2 separate regions of the Homo sapiens genome follow, and region 2 is linked to region 1. Evidence: promoter capture Hi-C in 16 types of primary human blood cells and fetal thymus (Javierre and others, 2016). All regions are on one chromosome and are shown on one strand. Each heading gives the region's core, a stretch centred on a gene start or on the middle of the fragment in contact. The rest is flanking DNA. Distances are from core to core; before and after follow the strand shown.

The links. Contacts are between HindIII fragments. The CHiCAGO score rates a contact against its expected background, and 5 or more counts as called.
Region 2: a fragment that was not itself captured here is called in contact with the fragment with the promoter of OCIAD1-AS1 in region 1 in 4 of 17 cell types (M2 macrophages, naive CD4 T cells, naive B cells and 1 more); the score reaches 6.1 in M2 macrophages.

What each region holds. Positions count from the first base shown.
Region 1 is chr4:48,856,707-48,862,604 of GRCh38, reverse strand. OCIAD1-AS1 (OCIAD1 antisense RNA 1) reads left to right here and starts at 2,402. Exons shown (of 2, transcript NR_146806.1): 1 at 2,402-2,448. It overlaps OCIAD1 (OCIA domain containing 1), which reads right to left. Exons shown (of 9, transcript NM_017830.4): 8 at 5,240-5,392; 9 at 790-1,880. The coding sequence ends at 1,843. The HindIII fragment of the contact is 4,141 bases long and covers 1,454-5,594 here.
Region 2 is chr4:48,627,771-48,634,363 of GRCh38, reverse strand. It overlaps FRYL (FRY like transcription coactivator), which reads left to right. Exons shown (of 64, transcript NM_015030.2): 4 at 1-73. Among named protein-coding and RNA genes, the nearest start is that of ZAR1, 140 kb to the right of the region's middle. The HindIII fragment of the contact is 3,638 bases long and covers 854-4,491 here.

The DNA of each region.
Region 1 (5,898 bases), core at 1,153-3,652:
AAAAAAACTACTCAGCTGCAAACACAAGTGCCTCAATAGAAAAGGAAAAATCAGAGGGCAGGGTCAAAAGCACCAGAGAACAACCCCCAGGGAATATACCTAGGCCCCAAAGAACAGCCACATTAGGCTGGCTAGACTTCAGAATTGCAAGCCAAGCCTTTCCTTTTCTCTTTTTGAATGGGAATCTCCAGAGTAGTGATGTTATGCCTAACAGGTGAACAAAGCAGATAAGTTCTTAAGTTCAGGCCTTCAGACAGAGAAATGGTATTCATGACGCTTTTATTCATGAAGCTTTACCCAAGGAGCCTCATCCATACCTTATCCTGATTAGATGATCAGCTCCTAGACTTTGAGCTTTTGTAATGGCATAGGAAACAGAGGTCCTCAGGAAAGGGATGTGAATTACAGCTGCCAAATGATAGACTGAAAGATGGCTGCGGTATCTCCCATCCCATGTGTTCTTTCTAAAATGTGACTAGGTGGGGGTCTATTGGTCCAGGTTCCTAACGTCCACTATAAAATGGTGTAGTATTTACATATAACCAATGCACATCCTCCTATATACTTTAAGTCATTTATAGATTACTTGTAATGCCTAATGTAAATGCTATGTAAATAGTTATTACAATGTATTGTTTGGGAATAACAAGAGTTCAGTACAGACAACCATCCATTTCTCTCCCTCAAATATTTTCAATCTGCAGTTGATTGAATCTGCAGATACGGAACCCACAGATACGAAGGGTCACTGTACACCAATTTTTCTTTTTAACATAATATCAGTCTCTGTGATGTATACCAAATTTTTATTGTTTTAGAATTTACAAATTCTTTAAAAATGCTTTTTAAGGCATTTACCTATTTACTATATTATCAATTTATCTACATAAATCACATTCATTATATTTTTATTTTTTTAGACACAGGGTCTCACTCAGTCGCACAGGCTGGAGTTCAGTGGTGTGACCACAGCTCACTGCAACCCAGAACCACTGGGTTCAACTGATCCTCCCAACTCAGCCTCTTAAGTAACTAGGACTACAGGCACACGACACCATCGCCAGCTAATTTTTATTTTTTTGTAAAGACAGGGTCTCGCTTTGTTGCCCAGGCTGGTCTCAAACTCCTGGACTCATGCAATCCTCCCACTTCGGCCTCCCAAAGTGCTGGGATTACAGGCATGAACCACTGCCCACTGCCTCCAGCCATATTATAGATTTATAGCCATATTATAGCCATATTATAGAAATATTATAGATGACTTTATTTCCTATACCTACATGATTATAACTAGCTTAAAAATAAATCAATAAATTACAAACAATAAAACCATAAAATCAAGGAAGATGAGGGCTGTTGCATGTTCCTTTACATTTTATTTGCCATAAACATTAAGATAATACAGAAAATACTGGAGAAAAAAAGCTTTTTAATAATTTCTTGATGCAAAGCTTCACACTTAAAAATTATGCTTGCTCCCCCCATCCACCCCAATTCAACATGCAGATATCATTTATTTTCTTATATGCTGATTCTAGAGCATTGTAATCTCGACGGTTTTTTAAGAGTTATCTTTGCCCTTGCAACAATTTCACAAACTGTATACAATCATGGTATAATACCATCATTCAAATGAATCCCTAAGGTGAGTACATTTACACAATATTAACACTAAAAATCTGTGTTTTTTTAAAACACCATAGAAGTCAAACCACAAAAACCCAGGATCTTGTTTTAAATGTGTTTATGAAGACTGCTGCTGAGCTCAAAGCATGCAGGTAATCATGACCACCTAGATGAAGCTGGATGTTGAAACTCCTTCATGTCCAATGATGTAATTTTTCACTCATCCCAAGTATCTCCATACTTGTTTACTTTGACTAGGAAAAAAGCATAAATAATTGATGATTCCAAGCAATAATAAGTAAAAGACATTATTTTAAGTTTGTTGCTATGATGAAAAGTTATGTTTCTCTCTCATTTGAATAAAAGCACATGAGAGTCAAATTATAATTACAAAAAGGGGATGACCAGACTTTTGTGAACTTGGGGTTGGACAAATGCATTGTATCTAGAATTTTACATAAATAGTTAGTCCTCATAACAAACTTCTAAACACAATTCTCATTTTAATGGTGAGAAAAAAGATTAGTAACTTGCCCAAGGTACAAGCCCTAACAAGAACTGAGATTTGAGTATAGGTCTGTTTAGATCCAAAGCCTAGGTACCTTTACATCTTTACCATACTACCTAAGTGTGGCACATATTAAGCCATATACAAAAAAAAAAAAAAATAGTGGGAAATAATAAAACAAACATTTGAATTTTCGTTTTTCACAAAAAATACAGCAGTAGAAATGGTCAAGTGTTCAAGTTGTAATTAATTCAATCTTCTCTCTCAGGGCTGTAAATACTACTATAAGAAGAAAATACTACTACATTTTACAGGTACTCTATATTTTACATTTTAAAACATGCTCCGCTGTCTATTCTACTCCTTTACTTTTTTGCTTCTCTTCCACATAGCTTCTGTCTGTGAGTAATCATAACAATATAAAGCAGCAGTTATCACAGTGTGGACTCTTCAGGGAATACATGAAGTCAAAATTATTTCATTATTATACTAAGACATTATATATCCTTATGTTTCACATTTTGCCTTTTCCCCTTGCTCTCATTCCCTCATGAGTATATGTTACATGGTTTTCTAGAAGCTACAGGATGTGTGGTGACATTGCTCTGGCAGCTAATGGAATATGTGCTTGAATTTTTTAAATTTCTGGGTCTTAATTTCTAATTAGATAAATATCAACCACATAAGCTAAAGGTGAAAACTTTAAGTGACACTTTCTGACCATGTGAATCTACCCTGTACTAATTTCAACAATAATTCAGAAAATGACTGAAACTATTTCATAACAAGTCTTTTCTTTAAATTATATAAAGCACACAAAAAACCAGCTTTTCCCAAAAAAAGAAAAAATCATTTCACATTCTTGTGTCATGTAACAGAACTTGAAGACTTCAGTCAAAAATCAAAAATGTCAAAATCCAGCAAATGTTAAAGGTCTACCAAATTTCCTTTCTTAACCTCTATTACCATAGAAGCCTAAACCAAAATACTCAATTTCTGATACAGTGTAAAGTACTATGCTATGCAGACAATAATAGAAAAGATTACAAAAATGAGAAAAATATTACTTTCTGCCCTCACAGAGCTTACAATCTAAATCCTCAAATTAATTAGCAGGACAAAGTACCGACAAGTCTTTACATATTACAGAGCAATGGCCACTAGATGCAGTTTATGCTAAATGTTGTTTGATGACAAACATTCAAAAGTATGGTACATCCCTAATTCATTTCAAAGGTAGATTTTTTTTACATCAATAATATGATGCAGATATTATCTATCATTGTTATAAAAACAGAACTCCAAACGAAGCAACCGCTAATGATTAAAAATAAAATTAGCTCTAAAAAATGACCATAACAACAAATACTAAGGACTTTCATGTATTTTTGCATTCTTTGTGGCATATGACCTTCAAGAAGGTACCAAAGACCTATTATTTCCATTTTTAAAGTAGTAAATAGAAAATCTTGAAACAATGACACATACTCTGAAATTCCTTAAGAGAAAATCATAAAACCCTATACTGAAATAGCTATAAAACCCTATTCGAATGTCCTCTTCCTTTAGAGGTAAACTTGTATCAAAAAATTTACTTTGGCTAATGTATAGCTATTCCAAAAAGACTTAAAAGAAACCAGGATTTAAAAATTCATCTTTAAGAAATGCCTTAGAAGCTGGCATATAACTCTTTCAAATTCACAAATGTACAAGAAAGGTCAGGCACAGTGGCTCCCACCTATAATCCCAGCATTCTGGGAGGCCAAGGTGAAAGGACTGGTTGAGCCCAGGAGTTTGAGACCAGCCTTGGCAACATAGGGAAAAACCCACTGCACCAAAAAAAATTTTTAACAGCCAGGGATGGTGGCATACAACTGTAGTCCCAGCTACTCAGGAAGCTGAGGTAGGAGGACTGCTTGAACCCAGGAGGTCAAGACTGCAGTAAGCCATGATTACACCACTGCACTCCAGCCTGGGTGACAGAATAAAACCATCTCAAAAAGAAAAAACAAACAAACAGAACAAAAAAACACGAGAAAAACCCAAATGTACAAGAAAATCAATCTCATTACTCAATCATTCTGTGGTTAGGCCACAAGTGGTATTACAGCGCAACGCCAACCTCAGGTCACTACAGCAACTTATGCGATAGATGTATCATTAGGAAAATAAGACTATCAGATCTCCAAGGAGATTTGTTGTAAGAGAGAAACAGTCAAATGAGTATGTCTCTACCCTGTGTTAAACTAATCTTGCTGTCTTAAGACTTACTATTTGGACTTCACTATTTTCTTCCTTTTTTTGGCGGGGGGAGGGGGGAACAGAGCCTCGCTCCGTCATCCAGGCTGCAGTGCAGTGGCGTGATGTCGGTTCACTGCAACCTCTGCCTCCTGGGTTCATGCAGTTCTCCTGCCTCAGCCTCCCGAGTAGCTAGGATTACAGGCATGCACCACCATGCCCAGCTGATTTTTGTATTTTTAGTAGAGACAAGGTATCGCCATGTTGGCCATGCTGGTCTCCAATTCCTGGCCTCAAGTGATACACCCAGCTTGGTCTCCCAAAGTGCTGGGATTTCAGGCATGAGACACCACACCTGGCCTTGACTTCATTATTTTCTAACACAAAATGGCCTTTGGAACACCTTAAAAATGGAAAACTGGCCGGACACGGTGGCTCAAGCCTGTAATCCTAGCACTCTCAGAGACTGAGGCAGGCGGATCACAAGGTCAAAAGATCGAGACCATCCTGGCCAACATGATGAAACCCCATCTCTACTAAAAATACAAAAAATTAGCTGGGCGTGGGGGCCTGTAGTCCTAGCTATTTGGGAGGCTGAGGCAGGAGGATTGCTTGAATCCAGGAGGCAGAGGCTGCAGTGAGCCAAGATCGTGCCACTGCACTCCAGCCTGGCGACGGAGCAAGACTCCGTCTCAAAAAAAAAAAAAGAACTGATAACTGTAAAGTACTATTTTAAAAATATTTTACTTTGGTTAATTGCTTGAAGAGTTAAATCACATATTAATTAATTTTTTATAGTATTGTTTTAAAGTAATGTTTTAGTTTCCAATCCTCAACAGTAAAGTGATTCAGACTAAACTATCATACCTTCTTTTTTTGGCACTCTTTCATGCATAGGCCTGACTGAGGGGTCAGTCTTTTGTGTTAAAGATACTTCATATGACTCTCTGTTCTTATTCCTTAATTCCTCATATGTAATATTTTTTCTTTTAGGACTTTCTTCAAGGTTGGGATCAGGTCCTAAAACAACAAACAGTTAATAAATGGTAATAAAAGGATTTGTATAACTCTAAAGCAACTAAATTTTACAAATGCTCCTTACAAAAGGAGCTACAATCAAAATAGAATAAAGAATCAAATTATTACCACCATTTCACAGGTACTATACTTTCACCAAGATAATCATCAAACTGAAATCTACTTCCACCCATATTTTTAAGCTTTTATTTCTAAAAATTAAAATGGACATCAAAAATTTTAAAAACTAAACCACAGCCAGAAGAAAAATATGTATCATAATATATAACAGTACAATTTAAACTCATTAAAATACCAGTGTTTTAAACTGGAGTTACTCATACTGTATACAGAATTAAAAGAGAAATATATTCTACTAGGGACAACTGAATAAAACTTGACATAGCATAGATTTTACTCAATATATAGTTAAATAGTCCTATAACCACAGACTCTATGAAAACAACTCCAGCTATTTTCAAAAATCATTTATTTTACCTTTTTACAAA
Region 2 (6,593 bases), core at 1,423-3,922, 230 kb after region 1:
CATCAAGAGCCTCTTTGCAGAATTTGCTGTTCAAGCTGAAAAGAAAATTGAAGTTGTAATGGCCGAACCCTTGGTGAGTACAGCTGACCTATAAATCTGAAATATTTTCTTGACTTTTGTATTAACCACTATAATGCAGATTTTTCAAAGGAAATAATATACTTGAAAAAAATATTAAGGGATAGTGGTGATGTAGAAAGCTGCACTGACTTTAGAATCCACTTTGATAAGTTGCTGCAGGTCGCAAAAGAACAAAAAGGAACTTCAACAGTGGGAATTGTGGAAACAAATAAAACATAGGAAATAAAGGAAAATTAGGATATAATGTGAGTTAACACTAAGGTCACAGCCAAACTTATAATAAACAAGAGAACATATTTTACATGTATATTGTGTGAGACATACTTGGAGAATGTGAGAAGCTCTATTTGATTAGAGCCCATGATGAGGAGGAGGGAAGAGAAAGACTGAAAACAAACACATGGGTCAGTTTCTAAAGAGTTGTAAATGCTATTGTGATGGATAATATGGTGGTTGAACAATAGAGAGAGAAGACATTGAGAGCGGAGACTATTTAGTTATTGTACATAGTTCAGGCTGGAATGAAAGGGGTCTTGAACTATGGTGTTAGAAGTAGAAATGGTTGCAGAAGAAAGTAAGAGAAATAACAGAAGTAAAATCAATAGAACTTGACAAGTAACTAAGTAGGGGGCATTTTGAATGAAAGTTAAGGGTTAAAGATGCTCTGGAGTGTTAGTAAAGATGATAATATATTTACTTTGGTAAAGTACACAGGAATATCTTTGGGTAGAAAAGGTGGATAAAATAATTTTTCGTTTGCGTACCTTAAGCTTGAGATACTGATGATCTCACCACATGGAATTAGTTGCTTGATTGGTAGTTGGAAATTCTTTTTGAGAACTCAAGAGATGGTAACTAGAAATACAGATTTTGGTATCATCTATATGAGGGTGTAAATTGAAGCCAAAAGAGCAAATGATGATTTCAAGGGAAAGAAAATATAGAATTATTATTGCCAATGACGTAGAGCAGCAAAGTACAATGAACATTGAGAGAAGTGGTTATTGGATTTGGAAATAAGCAGAAATAAAACAGAACAGTTTTACCTTCTTGATATAATTACAGGAAGTAACTTTGACTCTCTGCCAACTTAAATAGGTGACAGTTTAGGTTACTCTTTGGGCTGGAAGGAAGTGGGTATGTGATGTACTAAGAACACAGTGTAGGTTCGATGTGGGATGTTGGGAATGGAGAGGAAGGCGAAGGATGTTGTAACAGCTGAAACTCACTCCTTACACAACTGAATTAGGGATAGCTATTCACCACCAATTTCAGATTCAGAGGGTTTGTGACGGCGCACTGAGGAGTTAGGCACAATAATATATTGGCTTTAGAACCTGTGTGCTTACTCAGCCTGTTATAGTTCCTTAGAAGGATGAGAGAGGAAAACAACAGAAGGGAGGACAGGGCAGGAAGAAAGTTGAAGGAAGTATTGTCAATGCTCTTATTTTCTTAGTGAAGTAGCCTTGAAATTGCTGTGAAGGTGAGTTTCTTCTCAATGATTAAGTAGAGAAAACTACTCTGAGGAAAGCATCTATGAAATAATATGTTCCGGGATCTGATACATAATAATAGCCAAATGTATATTTCAAAACTGTGCAGATGTTTATATTCAGTTTAAATCATCCCATGATTGCTTTCCACATAGCAAATTGATTTTTATACTAATGTATATATATTTTTTGTGTATATTGTATAATGTATATATAGTATATATATAGACAGCATATATATTATTAATATAAAGTTCTGTTTTAGAAGTAAGGATTACAAAAGCCTATAGCATAAGTTCATGATTATAAGATTTGATTATAGATATGCTTAAACTACAAAATGTTAGTTTTCTTTTTCAATGGTCTCTGAATTACATGATAAATTACTACACTAGTCTACTTAAACAGCATACAGTAAGGGAACAACTCTAAACAAATTGAAGAATTTATTATGGAAAATGTCAAACATATATAAAACTAAAGATTATGGTATAATGAACACTTAGGACCCATCACCTGGCCTCAGCCATTTTCAAGTCACACAGCACATTTTAAAAACACTTTATTTTATAAAATGTTTTATAGTAGTATCATGTGATACAGTCCTACCAGTTCTCAATTTTTATATATATATTTATATATTTGAGATTTTGTGTGCGCATATATATATATATATATATATATATATATATATATATTTTTTTTTTTTTTTTTTTTTTTTTTTTTTTTTTTTTGGAGAGACAGGGTCTTGCTGTGTCTCCCAGGCTGGAGTTCAGTGGCGCAATTTTGGCTCACTGCAACCTTCACCTCCCAGGTTCAGGCAATCCTCCCACCCCAATCTCCTGAGTAGCTGAGACTACAGGCATGCGCCACCACACCTGGCTAATTTTTGTGTTTTTGTAGAGATGAGATCTCACCCAAGCTGGTCTCAAACTCCTGGGCTCAAGTGATTCACCTGCCTTGGTCTCCCAAAGTCCTGGGATTATAGACCCACCGCCTCTGGCCATATTATATATTCTCATTCCAAACTTCCCATATATTCCCTCTAACTTAGTCATCCCCCCCTAAGCTAAATGAATATGTATTTTACTGTAATAATTTGTACATACTTCTAGATTATGATGATATCACGTTATAGTTAATTGCTTACATGTTTATCTTCTCCGATGTGAGTTACTCGATACCAGGAACCAGGTCTCTCTCATCTCTGTATCTGTGGCACTGCTTGTGGTGGTGGGTACTCAGTAGAGGGTTTTTGTTAAATATTAGTATTTTAATGAATGTAGCCTTAAGAAGTATTGCTGTGGTGTGTGCCTTTTGTTTTTCTAATAATAATAATAATAATAATGTTTTCATTCTAGCCAGAGCTTCCGATAGTTCTTTCAGAATAGCCTGATGCTATTCATTTATCTTATTAGTTAATTCATTTATTTAATAGTTAATTTTAGAGGCATCTGCTATGTAATCTGAGATTATAAAATTATGATTAATAGTGGTAAGGATTTCATCAGAACGTAGATGTTTCTACTCTGCCATCACAAATAGAAGAGGCATCACTGCTTACTCTTCCTGACACACCAGGAAAACCCCCAAATCACCATCATATTTTACAGATTTTACCCCTTACACTCCTATATACCAAGATAATTTCTTCTTATCTAGAGCAGAGTGCCAGCTTTGTTTTTATTTATGTCCAAGTCTGGGTAAGTTGGGAATCCATAGCTTCAAGATTAGATAATGAAAATACATTTAATCTAATATTGTCACAGTTTTTACAATATAGCTTCAAATGCTTTTATTGGAATTTCATTTATTTTGAAATTTATTCTGTACCCTTTTAGGTAATAATCATCTAAGATGACTCTCTGGGTTCAGAGTCACTTTAAAGAAAATAGCATCCAGGGCTTGTCAGATACAAGGAGGCTGGCCTTGCTCATGGTCAGTCAGGTAGTAGGTTTCAAAAACACAAATGTGAATGGCTTTTGCTGAAAGAATTTAATCTACCACTAAAATGAGAGAATTGGCTTTTTCATTCTTACATTAGAAACCATAATAAAAGAAGATTAAGGAAGCCAAAAGACTCGAAGATTAGCTGAGTTGGATTTTTAGCCACAATTTCATTTTCATTTTAGAAGGAAGATTCAAGAAGGGCAATTGGTGATTGAAATGGCAACTTGCAGGCTATGCAATCCAATACCTTAGGTCCTTTTTTCCTAAAAGGAGATGGATCAATCCTCGGTAATAACCTAGGTATATCCAAGTTTATCTGTTAATCTTTTAGATTGCTGGGGACTAGAAAAGAAGATAGAAGAAAATCCATTTACCTATCTTCTTCTGATTTAGACCTTATGTTTTGATTTAGGCCCAGCATTTTAAAAACTCTAAAATTTTCACTATTTTTTTTGAGAGTATAAATATATGTATGTGTCTTAAAGGGTTTCTTCTCCCTGTATGGTCAGTTTCTTCCAAACTGCATTTTTCTGCTGGTTTTACCTTCTCCTCACATGTTTATTTTAACTTGTTATATTTTAAGAATGAAACACAGTTGATTGGAAGTCCAGTGTACACAGAGGAGCCTTTTTGACTGTGATCTTCTGTGTATTACTGTCAATGGACCATCAGTGTCAGATCTTTTTTGGGGGACTTGTCAGAGTCCCCAAAGAAGGTTCCTACAGTACTCTGAATGGGAGAGTTTAGGCTTTAGCTGCAAGCATTCTGGGGAACTAGACTCAGAAGATAACTGGGGTTTTTGATATTTGGTTTATATATTCTTGCTTAACCTCCCTATCTTCAGTATGGTACCTCTTCAACCATTGTATGCCCCAGTCAGCATCATTGTATTTTGCCCTTTCCTAAGAAAGGCAATGCCTCTGAAGGTAAAGTGAAAGGGAGGGTCTAAATCTTTCTTAAACAAGCTTTTTAAAACAATCTTTCAATCAGCCCTCTTATTTTTATCCTCACCTTTAGCCATACTTTCAGAGTACCCAAGTTCTCCAATTCCTGAGCCTTCTGGGAAGTTCTAAAGCATCAGTTGGGTTATCTTTCCTTTACTCTCTGTGGGTCAAGCTCACTCACTTCCCTCTGGTTGTGCCTCAAGTGTCATCTTCTCTATGATCATGTTATCTGAAATTTCAGTCCCCATTCCAACTTCCTGTCCTAAATCTGTCTGACATAATATACACTTCTTTACTCTCTAATTAGACTGTTAACTCTGTAAGAGAGCGAGTTGTTTTCCGTTTTGTTATGGCTGTATCTCCAGAACCTAGAACAATGTCTGGCATACTGTGAACCCAGTAAATAATTTGGACAAATGAGTGAATGACTGACTGAATGAACAGACTGCCGACTTTCCCCTTTGCTTACTCAGGAGTCACCGTTGTTTGGTGAGATAATTAGTTATGGTCTTCATCTGCTTTTCACCTCCTCTCCCATCCTTTTTGTTCTTTTGTTTTAGCCCTTATAAAAATTATTTCACTGTTCTGTTTTAGGATAGAAGGTTGGCTATACAAGTGTTCAACCTGCCATCTCCAATTACAGATTACTGAAATGTTTCAGTGTCATTGTTACGGTTTCAAAATTTTTCCAAAAATTCTCTTGCTTTCTCTGAAGCTACATATTGCTGTTGGTATCCTACATATGCACTATATGTAGAATTAAATTATAAAATATAGGATTGTGAGCCTTGGAATTATTATTAACTTTTTATAGTATTATGAAAATAACACTATAATACTGTATAATATTATAAAGTATTATAATATTTTATAATTATAATATTACTATAACTTTTATTACTATGAAAATAAGACTATAAAAAGTAGAAATAGTTTTAAAGATTATATAATAAAAACATCTAATCACTATCAACAGTTTTTAGTCTACCAGTTTTTCATGTCTATTACTTATCCATCTATGTAGCACCTGCCACCTTTAAAAACTTTTTATTCTTTCAATTTAAAAAATTTTAATCTTAAAAATAATTGACGTATAATAATTGCAGATCTCATGGGAGTACATAGGGATGTGGTAATACATATGGTGATCAGACCAGGCTAATTAGCATATCCATCATCTCAAGTGTTTGTCATTTTGTTTATGTTGGGGCATTCAATATCCTCCTTCTATTATGGCTATTTGAAACTATATAATGTATTATTGTTACTATAGTCATCCTGCAGTGGTATAGAACACTAGAAATTATTCCCCCCACTCTAGTCGTAATTTTGTATTCTTTAACAAATCTCTCTGTGCCTCTCTTTCCCCTACCCCTCCCAGCCTCTCGTATTCTTTGTTCTATTTTTTTTACTTATATGAAATCACCTTTAAACACACACACACACACACACACACACACACACGCAAATGAAGGGGAGATATATATAAAATACACATTTTTTCTGTACCCAGATATTTTTATTTTAACAATCTAAATTGGAGATTATTATGTATCAGCCAATATAAATTAATCTCATTCTTTCTAACAGTCGAATATTACATATATAGTTTTAAATCAGTCTCTATTGATAGGCAGTTTTGGCCTTACCCTAGTTTGAGGCTGCTTTAAAGAAATGCTACAGGACATATTGCTGTACACACATCTTTGCATTCATTTATGTGTTAGTGTAAAGAATAATTTTACTTTTTAGTTGTTTGTGATGAGTTACATAGACAATAAATGTTTTTTAATAGTTTGTCTTTTAAAAAATACTAATATATTGAGGCCGGGCATGGTGGCTCACGCCTGTAACCCCAGCACTTTGGGAGGCTGAGGCGCATGGATCACCTGAGGTCAGGCATTCGAGACCAGCCTGGCCAACATGGTGAAACCCCATCTCTACTAAAAATACAAAAACTAGCTGGACGTGGTAGTAGGCGCCTGTAATCCCAGCTGCTGGGGAGGTGAGGCAGAAGAATCACTTAAACCCAGGAAGCAGAGGTTGCAGTAAGCTGAGATCATGCCATTGCACTCCAGTCTGGGTGACAGTTTTTTTATATAAAAAAACTTACATATTGAAACAC